2 separate regions of the Homo sapiens genome follow, and region 2 is linked to region 1. The links are contacts of gene promoters, found by promoter capture Hi-C in human tissues and cell types (Jung and others, 2019). All regions are on one chromosome and are shown on one strand. Each heading gives the region's core, a stretch centred on a gene start or on the middle of the fragment in contact. The rest is flanking DNA. Distances are from core to core; before and after follow the strand shown.

Region 1 (4,445 bases), core at 1,011-3,510:
CGCCTCAAAGGTCAGGCACTTCCCAGGCAGAAGTTAAAACCTGTTAATTTGCAAATTCTCTGCTTCCCTCAAATGCTATAGTTTGAGACAGGAAGTACAGACTCCCTTAAGTTTCCTCCAGCCTCCTTGAGTGAATTCAGTCACAACTGATGCCTCCCTCCCGAATATAACTAGGTCCTTTTATAAATCATGTGAGTGTGTGAAGGGCTGGAGAACCCTTAAGTATGCCTAAGACAGGGAAGAGGAGGAAAAGGCCACCGAGGAAGGAAAGATCAATTGCGGGGAGAGGGGAGACCGGTAGAAGGAGCACCCTGACCAAGCTGCAAAGTCTGGATCCCAGAGACAGCTAGCTGCTGGGACTGACTCACTGCTGAGGGGCCGGAACTGCGAGGAGATGGCACAGTTTTAATTATAAGCTCTGACTAACAACAGACCGGTGCCCCCAACTGCACACGTAGGAAGCAGGCAGAGGCTACCCCAAAGTGGCAGAAACAAGGAACTCTCTGTTCCTCCTGCTCCCTTTTCGCCTCTCATCTGAGGCTTGCCACTCCGCGGACACACCCGGCGCTCGCCAAGTTGTCGCATCGCCCCCCGGTGGGGAACGCCCCTCCCTGCTCTCCGGACAATTGGAGGGAAGCACAGAGCAGCGGGGGTGTCTCCGTCCTGCCAAGGGCTGCCTGTCCCTCGCCCAGTGCGGGGAAACTGGTCCGAGAGAATGAATGGCTTTCGCCGAGCGCCGGAAGCTGACGGGCGTGGGGCGCTTCTTGCCCCCAAGCACCCGCGCCCGCGTGGGGTGTCCCTCAGCCCGGGTCTCTACTCTGAGGGTGAGAAGCGTTCGCGTCACAGCCAAGGGTTCCTTCCTCACACGTGCACCCACCCACAAGACCGGAAGGAAAGCTTCGCTTTTGCCTTCCCCCCTGCCCCCCGGCCCTCCCTACCTGAATTCCGGGACCAGGTTAGGCTGCAACCCGTAGATGGCAGAGGAAAGAGTAACCAGCCACCCGGGCTTGTAACTCCCGTTCTCGCACTCCAGATAAGGCGGAGACCACTTGAAGTGGCTCTTGTCCCCGCCGAGCCCGTCCTTGCGCCGCCAGCTGTGGCCCAGGCCCCGGGGCCCCTGATTGGGGCCGCGGCGGTGTAAGTGGGGCCTCCACTTGCGCCGGAGGCCGTGGAACCACTCGGTCTCCAGAGTGGCGTTGGCCAGGTGGGGTGCGGAGGAGGACAGGTCTTGGAGCAGGATGCGGCTCTCCTCGCGCGTGGCCTGGAGGAAGACCTGTGGGGCCGGTGCGGACAGCGAATCGGTGCTGAAGGTGATGGCCGCCCGGGAGATGCTGGGCTCGCCCTCCAGAAGGCTCCACACCAGCGCCTGGTACCAATCCAGGTCGTCCTGCAAGTTCTGCTCCCGCGACTTATTGCTCTGCAGCATCACGTTGAGGAAGTTGGTGGCGTGTGTCAGTGTGTCCAGCGCCCGGTGCAAGGAGGGGTGCGCGCTGGCCAGGGCTGGCCACTTCCCCGGCAGGCCCGCCAACTCGTAGCGGCCGGAGCAGTTGGCTCGCTTCAGCTGGTGGGAGTCCCCGGTGTAGAGGTAAGAGGCCACGTCCATGGGCACCTCCTCGGCGAGTTTCTGCGCCAAGATGGTGCCATCGGTGGAGCGGCTCCAGGGAGCCGAGGAGTCCGAGGCAGAGGCTCGACCCGGCTGCTGGGCGTGCGGCTTCCCCTTCGGGGTCCTCTCTCGAGGGGAATCCGGCCGTCCTTGGGGGTCGCGGCTGGCGCCAACAGCTCCCAATCCCAGCTGAGCAAGCAGGAGGCAGAGGAGTAAGGGGTAAGCCATGGCTCCCATCTGCCTCCCAGAGAGAAGAGGAGGGAACGGGAGGGGGGGGAATCACTTTTTAAATTTGGATCGTCAGTTTCTCAACAGTCAGACTTTTTCGAGGAGTCTTCCCCCTTCTCCAGATGGCACCCAGTCCAAAGGACTTGAAAATAAGAATGTTTCGAGATTGGCCCCGGGTGGCTAAGCTACCGTCGCAGAAATCAAGTCACCTGTGGCAGCGCTGGCCGTGCCCGCTGCGCGAGGGGCCGGCTGGGGATTACGCACCTCGCAGCCTGGAGCCGAGCGGGTTACATGGCCTCGCGCTCCCAGCGGCTGGAGTCAGCCCGAGTCCGTCTCTCGGCCCGGCTGCCGCCACCGCCGCTCTCATTGAGGCGCGTTCAGAAGCTGCTGCTGCTGCTGCCGCCGCGGCCGCCGAAGACGCTGCTCCATAGTCTCACCCGCCGCAGGTCGTTCCCGCCTCCCGGCACTGGCTCCTCCTCGACCGCTTCGCCCGGAGGCGCGGGGCGCGCGCCCAGACCCGCACCGCGAGCGCAGCCGCGACTCCCGAGGAGCGAAGACGTCCTTTAAGACGTTCGTCTGTCCGGAGTAGCGAAGGCCGGGCGGCTGGTTAATTGCAGCCTTTAGGTTTGGCCGCAAACCACACTCCACCCTCTCTCCCTGCTCCCTCCTCGGGGGAGGAAAGCCAGTTTAAAGAGGCAGCTTGGCCGCAACCAAACCCTTGTAGGGCGGCTGCAAGTCGTCTTGTTCCCTGTTTGGTCGGCTCCTCTGTCAATCAGCCGACTGCCATTTGTGGGGCCGGGGAGGGAGCTGTCCAGTGCTGAACCCGAGGCGGCCCGCGGGCGGCGGGGGCGCGGGAGGCAGCCTGCCGAGTCCTCGCACCCACTCGCGTTCCGGATGACTCGGAAACCTGCGTGGGTGGCGTAGGGTGGGCGGCAGAGGGGGGAGAAGCAGAGATTCGGTGGCTCAGAGCGAAGGAAACTTGGACGTACTGAGGGGGAGGGTGTTGGCGTCTTGCATGCTTAGTTAAATCAGCCTTTTGCCTGGAAAAGAGGGAGAAGGGAGTAGTTTTCATTTCTAGGTGAAATTAGACAGAAGGGACATAGGATGGAGACGTGTCCTCCTGAGCATCTGCTCATTTTAGGCAAATTATCAAATCATCTTTCTTGTTGTCAGTTAAAGAAATGATTAAAACATACTTGTCTAGGCTCATCTTAGCTGAGGGAGTAATGGAGAAATCTACCAGCTGTGCTTTAAGGAGAGAAAAAAAAGTCATATTTAAGGAATCTCTGCTTGGGGGCCAGAATGGAGGGGAACGTGTAAAAATGTATGCAAGTAAAGATGTGTAAGGGAGAGAGCAAGGGGGAGGACTCATGAGCTCTGGGAGAATGAGAAGGAGCCTGTGTTGAGTGAGAAGGGAAATCATCCTGACTGGGAGTTCCTGGAATTGAGAGATAAGAACTAAGACTTCTATTTAGCTAAAGGTTGGGATATCCCAGCAGAAGAAAGAAGAACTGAGCAAGTATGCCAAGTCCCCCAAATTATTGGTAAATTTCTTAACACAATCTAATTGATGTTTTGACGCTTATTAGAGAATTTAAGTGTCTTCTGACACTCCAAAAGTAGACTGGTACCAGAAAAGTAGTGTTTTGCACAGCTAGCTCCACTTTCCATATGCACCTCTATTTTCAAATTCCCCAAGAAAGACACAAATAGAAAATATCCAACTTACTTTAATTCCCAACTAACAAAAATGTCCCTCATGGCATTCTAAGCAGGCACTGCTTAGATTCACTGTACTATTTCATGTCATCCTTCCTATTGAGAAAATACTTAAGGACTGGAATGTAAGCTCCAAAAGAGCAAAAATCTTTGTCTGCATTGGTCACTGAGGTACCTTGAGCACCCAGAACACTACCTGGCACATAGTAGGCTCTGGCTAAATAGTTGCTAAATTAGTGAATGAATGGGAAGATCATGATGATGAAGCTAACTTAAAAATCAATCTCCTCACCCAAGAAGAGAAGTCTGCCTGACACACCAGTGATGAGGGTTTTTGGAAGAAGACACAGCAACCAGTTTTTCAAACCGCAGTGGTTGGTCTCCAAATGAGTTTTTATAGTTATGCAAAGAGTGGTTATTAGATTTATATTTACTTACAAGTAGATTTCATGTTCATTTCCGACTTTTTGTTTAAATTTTTCTTTGCAATGTATGCTCCTATGCTAAGTAAAGGTCATCCCGGTTTAGTGCTCTGCCACAGTATGGGTGGCAATAATAACAGAAAGAGTTTCTGCTTATTTAATGTATCAAAGTATAAACTATGGTATTCCATTTACTTAACCATCTAAAGTCCGAAGTATAATTTCCTCATTCATTGATCCTTTTAGAAAACCTATATAACTTATTAACAATTCTTTAAAATCCTCTAGTATCTAACTTAAAAGAAGACATAATTGTATTCGTAGATCCTTCTGTAAGTAATCAAATGAACTAAGCACAATCAAAAGACCTGGATTCTGGTTCTAGCTTTATTTTAAAGGAAGATATATGACCACTGGCAAGACATTTAAAATTTCTGTGTCTTGGGACACAAACTGTGTGTGGGCCTCGGGAT
Region 2 (4,445 bases), core at 1,275-3,774, 550 kb after region 1:
TATCTATGCATGAGTGAAATAGCCACACCAGTCTGGTCACCTAAACAATGATGCTGACTCTCTTAGTCTATTTGGGCTGCTGTAACAAAATACCTTAGACTGGATGGCCTATAAACAAAGAAATTTATTTCTCATATTCTGGAGGCTGGGAAGCCCAAGGTCAAGGCTCAGGTAGATTTGGTGTCTCGTGAGGGCCCATTTTCTCATAGATAGTACCTTTTCACTGTGTCTTCACTTGGTGGAAGAGCTGACGCAGCTCTCTGTGGCTTCTTTTATAAGGACACTAATTTCATACATGAGGTCTACCCTCATGACCTAATCATCTCCCAGAGGCCCCATCTCCTAACTCATTCACACTGGTGATTAAGTGTCAACATACGAATTAGGGGAGGGGAACACACAAACATTCAGACCGTAGCACTGACCAAAGAGAATACTTCCCTGAGTGAGATAGTGGTAGGAGAACTAGATCGGGGCATACTTCTTGGTTCATCACCCAGGATACTTTGTTAAGCATTTGGCTCCATTGACTCAAAGATTAAATTTTAAGTTAATCGGTTTTTATAACTCTGGAGATTCTTGGGTATAACTAATATTTGGCCAGGACATTTTAAACCTACTTTATGCTGTTCTATGTTAAACACAGCAAAGTTAAACAGCATGTCTGGTATAATAAGGAAGAAAGCAAATGGTATAAGGATTTGAACTCGGGCGGGTCTGAGATGAAAGCCTGTACTCTAAACCACAGTCCTATACTGCTGTTGAGTGGAGATGAACTGTTTAGGTGGCTTACCATAAGTCACCCTGCCAGTTGGTGTTGGAGCTGTTATTACAACGTGAACCTCTGGGTTCTGAGTCCAGTGTTCTTTTTTGCTGCTCTATGGATATGTGATAATTTGAAAAATGTAATTTAAACTAAGTTTTTCTTGAAGTTTATTAGAATTACTTTTAAAATAAGCATTTCATGTGTTCTATTATCAGTACAATATCCTATTTAAGTAGCCATTTGTCAAGTGTACATGTAGGTGGTCCGGCCTAGAGTGAGGGAAGCAAGAGTATGAATTCTGGAGGGTTCTTTCATATTTTGCAGGTTAGCAGCAGTTTACTTTGTAATTTTTTAAAATCTATTTTTAAATAATTACAAGAATAGTATGTGCTGGTTGAAAATATTTGAAATAATGCAGAAAGGTATAATAAAAAGAAAGTCCTTCTCCATCTACACCATCCCCTTCTCCCATTCCCTATGCTGGCATGGTTGGCATCTACCAACAAACATGAAGTTACTCTTGCTTTTATCATAGGTAAAGGCATTAAATTAATAACCTGTTAAAGGTGAACTGAAAGGCAGGAATTTTAATCTTACCACCTTATTTATTCTTCAGGTTTTTTTTTTTTTTTTTTTTTTTTCTCTGTTTCATTTTGTTTACCATTTATCATAGGTATGGTCATGGTGATTTTGATGTGACTGTATAAAAAATGAACTAGAGATTATTTTAGGGTTATTTAGTTACTATTAGGCATTGTACATATAATCAAGATCCAGGCTGTTAATATTAAGTTGTATTTAACATACTGTTTGGAGTTCTAATTACAAAGAAAGAATTCTTTGGGTCATCTTTCTTATTTTCTTCCTCCTCCTCCTCCCCCCCCCCCCCCACTTTTTAGAGCTTTTTGTATCTAATAGGCAAAACAGGGCTGTTAGGGAAGGCTTCAGTTTTTAAAATACAAGCTGTTAAACTCCAAAAGGTGTAATACTTAAGTACAAGGGTAAAGAAAGCTCAAGAAGGAATGTGAAGTGGTATACAAAAAGGCTGAGTGGAAAAAATGGCTAAAAATGTTTTGTCATATTCTGTTGAATTCACAAGAGCTAGTAAATTGGGAAAAATTTAAATGTTGTCTGATTCTATCAAAACACTTTCATATGTTGTAAAGTATCCATTTGGGCTTAAAGCCTAACTAAAATTCAAAATTGTTAATACTGAATATGTAATTCTTATGACATTGGTTTCAAAAATAATATTCCTCCCCAAATTTGAATAAAGGAGATAGCTTTAAAATATTAGTTCTACCCGGGCTCGGTGGTTCACACCTGTAATCCTGGCACTTTGGGAGTCCGAGGCAGGTGGATCACTTGAGGTCAGGAGTTCGAGACCAACCTGGCGAACATAGTGAAACCCCACCTCCATTAAAAATACAAAAATTAGCTGAGCATGGTGGCTCATGCCTGTAATCCCAGCTACTCAGGAGGCTGAGGCAGGAGAATTGCTTGAACCTGGGAGGCACAGGTTGCAGTGAGCCAAGATTGCGCCACTGCACTCCAGCCTGGGCAACAGAGTGAGACTCGGTCTCAAAAAAAAAAAAAAAAAAAAGTTCTAGAACAGCATTTCCCAGGCAGATATTCTAATTATTTTAAAATCTCTGGGGAAAAAAATGGGTTCCCTGGCGAGTAAGTTTGTACTTTTGAGTTTCACAATGTACATTTTGTGAAAAATGTTCTTGAATGAATTCATATTTTATCTCAACCATATCTGCTTACATTAGATAATAGTACTGCATGTGTGAGATGTTCACTGTTAATGCCTGCATTTGTATGGATTTCAGGGCCCCTTGTGATAACTTAACTCAGAAGTGGGGACCTGTGACTGTAATGTAGACTATTTAGCATTTAGAATTGCCATACAGGAATATTAGAGATGTCTGAAGTATGTAAAATATTCTCAAGTTTTAATAGTTCCAGCCGTATACTTCTATTACTAAACAGTAATATTTCTTCCCAAATTTGAATAAAGGAGTCATCTTTAAAATATTAGTTCTAGAATAGCATTACCCAAGTAGATATTCTAATTATGTTAAAACCTCTGGGAAAAAAATGGCCTCCATGGTGAATAAGTTTATATTTTCCTTTCGAATTTCACAATGTACATTAGTGTCGTCGTGGTTTTGAGAAATCAAAAAGCTTGCCAAGTGGCCCTACATCATTGACCATAGGGACCTCCTCTCCCCCATCCTCCTTTTCAGGTGGTATATAATAAAACTACACAAGGATGTTGTGGGAAATGCTGTACCAGACAGTACAGTATTCTCTCATCCAGACACAATTTTCCTATTGCAGAAAAGTATTGGTATGATTCTAATCAGCATGGAAAAGATAGACTTGGTGTGTCAATGCACACACCCAAAATGCATGTTGGGATTAACTGTATTCATGCCATAAAAATACTATGTAGACATATTTTATTTTATATGGCTAGCTTTAATTTGTCACTGCATTCTAGTCTCTGTTCTATAATATTTATTATAGGTTAACAAGAATTACTCTGGAAGTAATATTTTTATGTCTATCCAGTAGTTATTTTTGCAAACTAATACAATAGTACAAAAGGCACAGTGTTGAAAGATCTTAATTTTTGAGTGAAACTTACTTAAAAGAAGTCATTTTCCCCCCTGAATCTTAGTGTAAAGGCAGCTGCAGTCTGCTGACAGCTTGTGGTTATGCTCTGATTTACTGGGGAAGGAGGAGGTTGTACTATTTTAAATGCATAATAGAGCATTCGTTTCGTCATCTGGAAGCAGAGATGGAAGAAGCTGGGGGGAAATGAGAGACATCACTGTTGCTTTCGTGGAGGGAAGCTTTGTAGCATGTTATCAGACAGCAGTGCATATTGAAGAAAATATCTGTTAGGAATGCATGTCACCAGATGTATTTTGCTTTCAAGAATGGTAGACACATCAAACAAGAATCAGATAAAAGCCTGAGAAAAAGATGTTCAGAAGAATACTGGAGTTATTCTTTATGCTTCACTGCCCTTTACCTCTCTTGGTACCTTCCAGAGAAACAAGTATAGATGTATTTTTAGCTTGCCGTTTCCAGCATCAATATGACAACATGATTTTGTCTTTATATCAGTAAGCAGCTTCTACTATGTTTTCCTATTTTCTGCTAGCTACAGTTTACAAAGGATGTCACAGCACTGGTAAGAAATGCACAGTAGCCATTTCCTTGCTTTTTAAGTCATGTTTTGTAGAGATTTGTAATAAGCCAATCTATTAAAAACTGTTCACTTTTGCTTAGAGAAATCCCTCTATCGTGTTAATCTTACTAATTTGCAGAATACGTTTGTGATAGATGGTTTGCCATCCTTATTTTTTATTTTTATGTTTGGTTTTCTTTTGTATCCTGTACATAACTGATGCTACAGCGTAATATTTATCTGCATCAGTATATATATATATATATATATATATATATATATATATATATATATATATATATGTTTTTTAAGTATCTCACCCTCTTCCTGTCACTACTACTTTGCTGTTACGTTTGTGGCTGCACTTGAGCTTTGCAAGCTGTCGAATGCAAAGAGCAGGATGTGATGATAGTCTTGAGTTAAGCTTGTTTTGATTAGGGGAAGATGTGTTACCACATCTGTCTCAGATGCTGA

The links. The method cuts DNA at HindIII sites, captures the fragments that hold promoters and counts their contacts. A contact is called where the count stands out against the background at its distance.
Region 2: a fragment that was not itself captured here is called in contact with the fragment with the promoter of GPR158 in region 1 in 1 of the 25 tissues and cell types used here (dorsolateral prefrontal cortex).

The regions. Positions count from the first base shown.
Region 1 is chr10:25,172,816-25,177,260 of GRCh38, reverse strand. GPR158 (G protein-coupled receptor 158) reads right to left here and starts at 2,260. Exons shown (of 11, transcript NM_020752.3): 1 at 939-2,260. The coding sequence starts at 1,840. It overlaps GPR158-AS1 (GPR158 antisense RNA 1), which reads left to right and starts at 985. Exons shown (of 2, transcript NR_027333.2): 1 at 985-1,585. The HindIII fragment of the contact is 11,687 bases long and covers 1-4,445 here.
Region 2 is chr10:24,622,262-24,626,706 of GRCh38, reverse strand. It overlaps ARHGAP21 (Rho GTPase activating protein 21), which reads left to right. Exons shown (of 26, transcript NM_020824.4): 8 at 3,945-3,974. Among named protein-coding and RNA genes, the nearest start is that of ARHGAP21, 99 kb to the left of the region's middle. The HindIII fragment of the contact is 4,722 bases long and covers 164-4,445 here.